2 separate regions of the Homo sapiens genome follow, and region 2 is linked to region 1. The links are contacts of gene promoters, found by promoter capture Hi-C in blood cells and fetal thymus (Javierre and others, 2016). All regions are on one chromosome and are shown on one strand. Each heading gives the region's core, a stretch centred on a gene start or on the middle of the fragment in contact. The rest is flanking DNA. Distances are from core to core; before and after follow the strand shown.

Region 1 (5,537 bases), core at 1,888-4,387:
ACAAGTTAGTTAACATCTCTGTACTCCAGGTTTCTCACCTGGCAAAGGGGTTAACAATAACTGCTTACAGCATTGGTATGAAGGTAACATGAGGCAATGGGCATGGACACATTTGAAAAAGTAAAAATCCCGTATCCCTGAATCATCTGTATATGGGTGAAGATAACATGACTCTTTCTGAGGCTGTGAACACACTTGCTCATCTGAAAAGCCATCCAGATCCATCAAAGAATTCTCAAACCATTGGTCACATTTGAAATGTAGATGCCAATGATCCATATTTTCAGGGGATTTGCGTGTGGGCTTCAGTAGAAGGGAAGAGAAGGCTAGTGAAGGAGTAACTAGTAGGTAGCCATGGATGAATTATCAGTTTGGGTACCCTGTGGTCCTATAGACTTCAAGAGGACATAAATACCACTTGTTAGACTGTGAGTTCCTTGAGGGCAGAGTGCTTGTGTCGAATTTGTCTTAAAAATCACAGAGCCTGATTAGAAAGCTTCCAGTTAAGTTTCAATGAATTAAACTAAATTTTCTCCATTAGGACTCACTGGGAAGAGAAGAAAAAGGAAGTCTAAGGAAAATGGAATCTCTCATCTGGCCTACCCTTGCTTCCAAATACTTGGTACTCTTGTAAAGAATCCAATTTACAGCCAGTTGCTATCAAGTATAATTAGTGAAAACGATCCTTTTTCTCAGTAAATGGCAGCTTTCTTGGTATAGTTGCCCTGTGCCTTGCTGCAACTTGGCAGCTCAGACCCACCAGTGGGGAACAGTCTGGGAGCCCTGTGGGGTGGCTCTGGAGCTGCTGATGGAAGGCACAGGAATCAGGGCTTGCTGAACTTAAGGTTCAGGCTGCTTTCCCTGCAATAGGGTCAGCCAGCAGGGAGCAGGCAGGTCTGTGATGCAAGCAGAGAAGGTGGGATTGTGCCCACTGGGGAAGGGGGCTCTTGCTCTACCAAAGAGGAGGCTGGATGCCATGGTGCAGAATCCTCTGGGGTCTTGGCTCCTACTTGTCAACCACTAATTAATTTTTAGGTTTACAATTGATGTTTTCTTATCCAAGGACATCTGGTATACAAAAGTTCCCCTAGCTTAAAATGTTTAGTATTCTCTGAATAGCTTTCCTCTGTTCCCTAAGAAAGAGGCTTCCTCAGCAGCTGTGCTGCAAAAGACCCCAAATGTATTGCACATCCGAAGAGTGGCTAAGTGGGAGGTGAAGGGTGGGTACAGGGGTCTGTTGTAGGCACTGTCCTCCTCTGGGCTCCTTTGACATTGGCCTGGTGGCTGGGATACTTCAGAATAAAGGCCTAGTGGGTCACAGGTTTAGGAGGAGTTGGGGCTGGTCCCTAGGCCACTATAGGTGGTGGGCAAACATTGTAGAAGGCCTAATGTTTAGAAAGCCAGTGTGGAATTCTCCTTTGTGCAACTGCGTCACTGAATCAATTGGGATTTTTTATTGGTGAATGGACACTTGGAAGTTTTAATATGCAAAACATAATTTACTTTTATTACTTAAATTGCTTAATGTAATTTTAATATGCAAGACTTAATTTACGAAGAGCCAGGATTCCGGGTGTTTAAATCCTTGTCTCCAGGGAACACAGCTGTCCCTTTGAGGAAAACCTAATTTCTCTTCCCTGCCTGTGTGACTTTGGGACAAATCTGGGACAACAGTGAATTCTCTATTACTGTTATTACCACCCAAGTAAACTAAAAATCCGGGATGAGAAAAATCTTACAGAAAATTCTAGCTGAGGCTTCTAGCTTATAGTACAATGAATAGACCTTAATCATAGAATGCCTTTAAGAAAAACATTTAGGCCCGACTTGGTGGTTCACACCTGTCCTGTAATCCCACCACTTTGGGAGGCCGAGGCGGACAGATCTCTTGACCTCAGGAGTTTGAGACCAGCCTGGGCAACAAGGTGAGATCCTGTCTCTACAAAAAATACAAAAATTAGCCTGGTGTGGTGGTGCCCGCCTGTAGTCCCAGCTACTCGGGAGGCTGAAGCGGATGGATCGCTTGAGCCCGGGAGGTGGAGGCTGCATTGAGCTGAGATTGCGCCACTGCACTCCAGCCTGGGTGACACAGCGAGACCCTGTCTCCAAGTAAACAAAATAAAATAAAATAAAGAAAAATATTCAAAAAGCCCTCGAGGTTTTTTTGTTTGTTTGTTTGATTTTTTTGATACGGAGTCTTACTCTGTTGTCCAAGGTGGGGTGCAGTGGCACAATCTCGGCTCACGGCAACCTCTGCCTCCTGGGCTCAAGCGATCCTACCGCCTTAGCCTCCCCAGGCATGCGCCACCACACCCGGCTGAATTTTTCTTTTTTCTTTTCTTTTTTTTTTTTTTTTGAGACGGACTTTCACTCTTGTTGCCCAGGCTGGAGTGCAATTGTGCAATCTCGGCTCACCACAACCTCTGCCTCCCGGGTTCAAGCAATTCTCCTGCCTCAGCCTCCCGAGTAGCTGGGATTACAGGCATGCTCCACCATGCCCGGCTAATTTTGTATTTTTAGTACAGACAGGGTTTCTCCATGTTGATCAGGCTGGTCTCGAACTCCCGACCTCAGGTGATCCGCCCACCTCGGCCTCCCAATTCTTTTTCTTTCTTTCTTTCTTTCTTTTTTTTTTTTTTTTTTTTTTTTTTTATTTTGTATTTTTTATGGAGATGGGGTTTCGCCATGTTGCCCAGGCTGGTCTCGAACTTCTGGGCTTAAGCGGTCCGCCCGCCTCGGCCTCCCAAAGTCTGGGATAACAGGCTTGGGCCACCGCGCCCGGCCGAAGCCTGAACTGTTTATCAGTTCAATTATTTTTGCGGAATTGAACCGAACCGAATGGAATGGGAGCTTGCAGAGAGCTTCTACTCAAAGCAGTTCCTAAGGTTGATGGGGTGGAAGGAAATAAACAGAACAGCTATTGGCGTGGCCGAGTCGCTACGGACGGGGAACCCGAGCCGCTCGCGCAGGCGCAGAGCCAGGCCCGCGAGGGGATGGGAAGGTGGGGGGGAGGGGCGTTCCCTGGGCCCTGCCCCTCCCTGCCCTGCTTTAGTTCCAGGTACCGCCACTGGGGGCGGCCGCGGCCTCCCCAGCGGCAACGGCCACGAAGCTGCGCGGCCCTGGTTTCCAGCCGGGCCCTTTTCGCGGCCGGGCCCCAGCATGGCTGCCCCCACGGCTGAGGGCCTGGCAGCTGCTGCGCCCTCGCTTTCTTGACATTCCCTGGCTTCTGTGCTCTCTTCCCCAGGCCACCCCAGCAGACATGTTTGCCAAGGCCTTTCGGGTCAAGTCCAACACGGCCATCAAGGGGTCGGACAGGTGAGGGAGGAAAGGGGCCTGCTCTGCCACGGAACAACCAGACACCTCTTGGGCCCCGCTGGCCCATAGCCCTCGCTATTCTTGGCCGACATCCTCGGGTGGAGGCCGAGGGGTATGCCAGGGAAGGGACCCCAGGAGGCAAGGGTGGGTTAGACACATTTTGAGGTGAGGATGGAGGGGGACCTGGCTCTCTTTTGGATAGTCTAGTGAGTTTAAAAGAAAACGTAGTTAAGTCAGAGTTTACTGACTGCAGACTATTTAAGGTGTTGTGGAGAATGCAGAAGTGAAGGAATACAGAATTCTTGCCCTCCAAAGAGCTTAATGCCCCTTGGGAGAGATCGGATGGGATACCAAGAATTAAAAGTATAAGAGAAAAAAATGACTAGTGATTAATTCTGGCAGGAGAGACAGCTGGAAACTGAGGTGGGAGGGAATAAGGCACATGTGGTAAGAAGAACTGTATCTGTTCAGACAGGGTCACAAATGGAGATTGTGTTTGGAATTTTGTAACCAGTGCTTTATAGTTGTCTATAGGTCTCATGGCATAGTTATTTAATCATAAACTGGCATATTTGCGAAGCATGTATGAGAAAGGAGTGGGCCCAAGGGCTAGGCATGAAGTCAGGAAGGCAGGGCTGTTTCCTGTGTCAGGCTAACTTGGATTGTTCACTGGGCCTGTTTTCCCACCCATAAAATGGGAAGGCATACCCCAGGAATGAGTGAAAATAGATGACAATGGATGAAAAAGAGTTTAGGATGTTTCAGAAGAGTGTGTGTGAGACTAGGACATCATAAACCAGGCAATCTTTCTTTGGCCCTTGTGATTTTATAGTGAGCACTTTTGAGTTCGTTCTTGATATTTATTAAAAGTCTGTCCAGGCAGCATTCACAGTGCTGGTGTGCTTTCCACAGGAGAAAGCTTCGAGCTGATGTGACAACTGCTTTCCCCACCCTTGGAACTGATCAAGTCTCTGAGTTAGTACCTGGAAAGGAGGAGCTCAACATTGTGAAGTTGTATGCTCACAAAGGGGATGCAGTGACTGTGTACGTGAGTGGTGGTAACCCCATCCTCTTTGAACTGGAGAAAAATCTGTATCCAACAGGTATGACAACAGGACGAAGATGGCCATTACCATTAGGTAGTTCTTGCCTAACATCTGCTTCTCTCTGTTTCTTCCATTGTCTCCCATAAAATAAGCAAGCACGAAATCTCCCAATACCATCCCCAAGGATCTTTATGGACCTGGTGTTCCTAGAATTGGGTCTTTCAATTCTAGGATGCAAAAGGTTTTCTCTTATGCAAAACCACTATAGGAGGGATTAAAAAAAGGGCTGACATAGTAAGTAAGGGTGGTTGCAAAGGGAAGTTCTGAGATGAAGGAACAGTGGCTGAGAAGTTTACAGTGGGTTGACTAGGAATAGAGCAGAGGTCTTGAAAAGGATGGAATTTCAGGGCATGTCTTCATGAGACAGAGTCTTGCTCTGTTGCCCAGGCTGGAGTGCAGTGGCGCAATCTCAGCTCACTGCAAGCTCCGCCTCCTGGGTTCACACCATTCTCTTGCCTCAGCCTCCCGAGTAGCAGGAACTACAGGCACCCGCCACCACACCTTGCTAATTTTTTGCATTTTTTAGTAGAGACGGGATTTCACCATGTTAGCCAGGATGATCTTGATCTCCTGACCTCATGATCCGCCCGCCTCGGCCTCCCAAAGTGCTGGAATTACAGACGTGAGCCACCGCGCCTGGCCAAAAATATATATATTTTTTAGAGACAAGGTCTTACTCTGTCACCCAGGCTGAAGTGCAGTGGTGTGATCGTAGCTAACTGTAACCTCAACCTCCTGTGCTTAAGGGATCCTCCCACCTCAGCCTCCTGTGTAGCTGGGACTACAGGCATATGCCACCATGTCTGGCTACGTTTAAAATTTTTGGTAGAGACAAGGTCTCACTATGTTGCTCGGGCTGGTCTTGAACTCTTGAGCTCAAGTGATTTTCCTGCCTCAGTCTCCCGAAGTGTTGGGATTACAGGCATGAGCAGGGTGCCCAGCCTAAAAAATGTTTCTTAAAACTATCTGTAGCAGGATTTTCCTAAAATACTGAAAAGATATACTGTGATAGGAATAAAGCTGGATTGATAAGCTACATATCCAGCTGTTTTCATGGTGTACTTTAACCATAGGTCTCACAGGGATTTTTTAGGCTATGAGTGGCTCTCTAGGATT
Region 2 (5,537 bases), core at 899-3,398, 890 kb before region 1:
CTGTTATTTTCAGTGTTATGCATTCACCTTTCCTCTAGTTGATATGTGGGATGAAATACAATTTTGATATTTGTCTTATCCATTGATGCCGGACAAAGGAAGAGATTCCATGTGAAGTGCCTAGCGCCAAAAGCTGTATTGAGAGAGGGTAAATGTCACAGCAAAGCTTGCAACGAGAGGAAGGAATGAGACCTAAAGTAACAAAGCAAATTGAATGAACCATTCTTGGAAAGAAGTTCCTTCCCCTTAATTACATAATATTCTTACCTGCATAGTAGTATATGAATAGTATAGGTAATTATAAAAAGCAAAGTTGTATAATAGCTCAAAAAAGGAATATATGAGCCTTCAACAAAGAAAGCTTGATGTAGTTTCCTTTCTCTCCTTTATTACCAATCCCTCAATTGTGACTAGTTCCTATGACAAATATATTAATATAAAATCCACAAACTGAAGACCTACCATAATTTTAAAAGTTTTTATAGCTTTATCAAGATATATTACATACAATGATTGATGAGTATTTGAAGTGTACAATTCGATTACTTATAACATATGTATGCGTTGTGAAACCATCACCAAAATGAAGACAATAAACGTTTCCATCATACATCCCACCCACACAGAGTTCCCTCATGCCCTTCTGTAATCCATCCAAACATCCACTTCCTTCTCTAGGCAACCTTCAATGTGTTTTCTCTTACTACAGATTGATCTGACTTTCTAAAATTTCATATAACCCGAATCACTTCGTTTATATCCTATCATATAAAGGAAATAACTCAGGTGGTTTTCTCTTACTACAGATTGATTTGACTTTCTAAAATTTCATATAACCTAAATCACTTCATTTATATCCTATTGTATAAAGGAAATCACTCAGGTTTTTTTTTATGGTTTAGCCTTCACACAGCATAATTAGAGATCCATCTAGGTTGCTGCATGTATACAAATTGTTTCCTTTAGTTGCTGGGTAATATTCAATTGCATAAATATATCTTAATTTAGTTTATCCATTTACTTGTTGAGGGACATTTGGATTGTTTCCACGTGTTGGCTATTACAAACAAAACTGCTATGAAAATTCATGTACAAGTCTTTGTGTGGACATATGATTTCATTTCTCTTGGGTAAAAACCTAAGAGTAAAATGTTGAGTGTGTGTCTAAGGTTTTAAGAATCTGTTGAACTATTTTCTAAAGTTAATGTTATAATTTTACCTGCCAAATAGCAGTATATTATAATTCCAGTTACTCCACCTTATCGCCAACACTTGGCTCGGTCAATCTTTTTCATTTTAGTCATTCTAGTGGGTATGTATTGTTATCTCATTTCGGGTTTTGTCTTGTATGACTCAGCCCACTTTCACATTCTCCTGGTTCAGATATTCCATTCAAAGCAAGTTGATGTATTCTGTGCTATATGCACAATTAACACATCATCACTTTCATGTCTGTTGCAATATGAGCTGTCAACCCAAAGAACACTCTGCTTTCCATTCTGCATACTTACCCTTTAAGGAATAGATTTGCACTTGCTTTGCTTAGGCACCTCTATCAGTTTAAAAAAAGAGCATGCCCTTTCAAATATATAAATTTATAAATTATATATGTACACGAACATAAATTATATGCCTCAATATAAATTTTTGAAATGTAACACAGATAAAATAAATATTTTAAATGCTTTGTTAATCATCATGACTTAGCACAATCATTAGCTAACATCTAACGGGACAAAAAACAGTCACATTGAGTCTCTCTGTTCACAATAGTGAATGTAAAGCTTATTTCGACAGTCTTCATGATACTTTCTAGGTTTTTTGGTTTCATCGAGTTGTGATCAGTTGTGATTAGACTGACAGCATTTCTTCTACTTAATGCCTCTGACAAAAAATGTGTATACATGTGTCTTTGCGGAGAGGGTGAGAGGGATTGTCAACTCTACCATTTTCTTGTTTTCTGGAGTTGGTTTTATTACTGGGATCTTCACCCAGCATTTCTGTGTAGGACACTTTTGATGTTACCTGTCCAAATGTGAAGCTTATTTTAGATTAAAATAGATAATATAAATCACACATCCACTCATCTGAGCATATGTAAACCAAAATACACCACAAAGCACAGAAAGCAAATTGGAACTTCCCTTCTATCTTGCACCTTTACCTAGCAGGGATAACCAAACCAGATCCTATATGAGGACCACGTGAGGGCGCCAGAGTCCACCCTATATTAAACACTGCCTGGTAAAGCTTAATTCGTGTACTATTTTATGGCTCAGAATGTGGTCTATCCCCATGAATGTAAGCGGGAGAATATGTGCTCTGCTGTTGTGGATGAAGTCATCTATATATGTCAATTATACCCAAGTGGATTGATGGTGCTGTTGAATTCAAGTATGTCCTTACGGATTTTCTGCCTGCTGAATCTGCCCATTTCTGATAAGGAGACTTCAGCACCTTTTCTGATATCAGAAAGATATCATAGAAGTCTCCAACTATGATAGTAAATCCATCTATTTCTCCTTGCAGTTCTATGGGTTTTGCCTCACGTATTTTGTCTCTCCATCAGGTGCATACATATGGGATATTGTTACGTCTTCTTGGATAATTGGCCCCTTTATCATTATATGATGCCCCTCTTTATCCCTAATAATTTTTCTTGGTCTGAAGTCTGCTGTGTTTGAAATTAACACAGCTATTCCTGCTTTCTGTGACTAGCATTAGCATGGTATATCTTTATCCATTTACTTTTCATATATATTGTCTATATTTAAAACGGTCTTGTTGTACACAGTATATAGTTGGGTCTTGTTTCTTGATCCACTCTGATGATCTGTTTCAAATGGTGCATTTCGATCATTGACACTCAAAATGATTGTTGATATAGTTGCTTTAGTTTTGTTACTGGTTTTTATTTGTTGCTTTTTTTCTCTTGTTCTCTGTTTCTATTTTTTGTCTTCCATTCTTTTCCTGCCCTTTATTGTTTTTTGTTTTGTTTGTTTGTTTCTTTTTTTTTTTTTTTTGATTTGGAGTTGCGCTCTGTCACCCAGGCTGGAGTGCAATGGCACGATCTCGACTCACTGCAACCTCCGCCTCCCAGGTTCAAGCGATTCTCATGCCTCAGCCTCCCGAGTAGCTGGGACTACAGGCACCCACCATCATGCCCTGGTAATTTTTGTGTTTTTGTAGAGACAGGGTTTCACTATGTTGGCCAGGCTGGTCTTGAACTCCTGACTTGAGGTGATCCACCCACCTCAGCCTCCCAAAGTGCTGGGATTATGGGCATGAGCCACTGTCCCCAGCCATCTTTATTGTTTTAACTGAGCATTTTATATGATGCAATTCTCTCTTACTTATTAACATATAAATTATAGTTCTTTTTTTCACATTTTTCAGGGGTTGTCCTACATTTGCAATATCTATTTGCAGCTAATCTAAGTCCTCTTTCAAATAGCACTATACCACTTTACGGGTACTGTGAGTAACTCATAATAACAAAACAATCCTAGCTCCTCTGCTATTTTTTGTCGTATGCAATCTGTTTCTAGATTCACTCTTTAAGTGCTAGTAAAGCCATATACCTTTCACTCATCCTTTCCTGATCATAGGAGTTGAGATTTCTCGCTTTTCGGTGATCCTGCAGTCTTGCACGACTTCTTAGTCATGGTTTTTCAGACATGCATGGGGGTTTTCAGATTACAAAACACTGTCACATGCATTACACCATCTGATTTTCAAAACGTCTCTCTCAGAGATCAGGATGTCAGTTGTGCTCATTTTATACATGTGGACACTGAAGGTCAGTGATGTGACTTAACTTACTGGGTCCAAGACACCAGCTGGTAAGTAGCAGAGGCTGGAAAAAGCAGAACGCTGGCTTCCTAATAAGTAGATTTCATAAAACTCCACCACCTACTTCTATATGCATACACTTTGGGTGCAGAGCTCTTATACTTCTTTAAAATTCCAAAGGACCGTGCACACTGGAAGCATCCATCAGCATTTTAAAATTTAAATTATGTCAGCAACAAAATTTCTAGGTAGTTTAGTTTAGGCTGTTTCACATTTGGAAGTTATTGTGATAACCTCAGTAAATTTTTTTTTTGCAATTAATAGTGTCTGGGATTGTTTATAACAGTAACTTAATCAACATAGGCTAAGTAAAACAACATTCTAGTAAGAAGAGGGCCAGTACTCCCAAAGATGACACAAATTCCTAAGCGTTGACAACAGATTGCTTAACTTACTGGGCATGCTTCTCTCCTAAAAATAAGATTGTACGTTTTATCACATCTCTGCACCTGACAGGTTACTTTCTGGTGCCTAAGGAGATCAAATATTAATAACAACTCTTGCGGGACTTGGTTCTACTTTATTTTATTTTATTTACTCTTTTAGAGAAGAAGGAACACTCAAATAATGAATGTAAAATGTCTAGTGGCAGAGAAGGGCGAACCCGGAGTTGTCAGGAATAGGCTGGACAAAAACAACCAAGACTGTCACTTCAAATGAGATGTTGCCAGTGAGTCTAGGCAACCAAGAAGACTTCTGGGGAGCCGAAAAATAATAATAGAAGGGTTCTAACTGAAGATGTTTACCTATTTGAAGTTAAGAAAAAGGAAGAGATGTGGCCTCAAAATTTCCATAATAATTATAATAGGCGTTATTTTGTACTAAACACATCACTAAAATGCGAACTGTAAACATATCTACTGTCCCTTCTACCTGCAACGGTTACATTGCATGTTCTGGGGCTTCCCTTGCTCTTCTAATCCGCAAGTGCCTGGCATGCATCTGTCTTAAAGTATGCTGTCAATTAAGTGCATGGTGATGATGGCCGTGGTGGCTTGGTGTGGGGGGCGAGGACAGTTCCATGCGGGGCAGTTGTCAGGTAACACCTGCATCCCTAGGACTGCTTGTCTAAACACCATTGGGAGCAAAGTACAGAGGTAACGGTTGGGGGATAGAAATGGACTCGGGGACACATAGCCCTGTGTTAGATACTCGACAGGCTTAATGCCACTGAGGCAGCAACTCCACGATGCAGAGATACCAGTGTCCCCATTTTACAGAAGAGCAAACAGACTCAGGTGTGCTAAGTTGCCTCACAGTTAAGTTTCTAGGACCAGAACTCAGGTTTGTCGGATCCCCAAGTTCCCTTTCACTAGGATCAACGCCACGTCTTGGCTATAGCCAGCCGAGGCTGTGAATACACAAAGGCAAGGAATTTCGTGCGGCACCCGCTCAGCATCTGCGCCTTCCACTGCGCTCGTCACGACTTAAGCCCCTGCACCTGGGAACTCCACGCTTACCCAGAAGCAGCGAGGGTCTCCAGTGCGCAGAAGGATCCTACACCCGCCGCCCTGCCGGGTCGCGCGCTCAGCCCACCCATCGCGCTGCCTTCGGACCCGGGCGCGCAGAGCAGCGCAGCTCAGCGCTGCACGCGAGTTCTCTGCGGGGCCCCGGGTTCCTCGTCCGCCCGGGCGCCTCCCCACGCCCGCCCGCCTCTCACCCCAGGCCACCGGCAGCGCAAGCAG

What was found. The method cuts DNA at HindIII sites, captures the fragments that hold promoters and counts their contacts. A CHiCAGO score of 5 or more calls a contact.
Region 2: a contact is called between a fragment that was not itself captured here and the fragment with the promoter of EIF2D in region 1, in 3 of 17 cell types (fetal thymus, endothelial precursors and total B cells). The highest score is 7.2, in fetal thymus.

What each region holds. Positions count from the first base shown.
Region 1 is chr1:206,610,065-206,615,601 of GRCh38, reverse strand. EIF2D (eukaryotic translation initiation factor 2D) reads left to right here and starts at 3,137. Exons shown (of 15, transcript NM_006893.3): 1 at 3,137-3,315; 2 at 4,228-4,418. The coding sequence starts at 3,260. RefSeq lists a silencer at 2,875-3,084 and an enhancer at 3,375-3,444. The HindIII fragment of the contact is 3,738 bases long and covers 499-4,236 here.
Region 2 is chr1:207,496,364-207,501,900 of GRCh38, reverse strand. CR1 (complement C3b/C4b receptor 1 (Knops blood group)) reads right to left here. Exons shown (of 47, transcript NM_000651.6): 1 at 5,513-5,537. Among named protein-coding and RNA genes, the nearest start is that of CR1, 3.0 kb to the right of the region's middle. RefSeq lists an enhancer at 2,282-2,341. The HindIII fragment of the contact is 209 bases long and covers 2,044-2,252 here.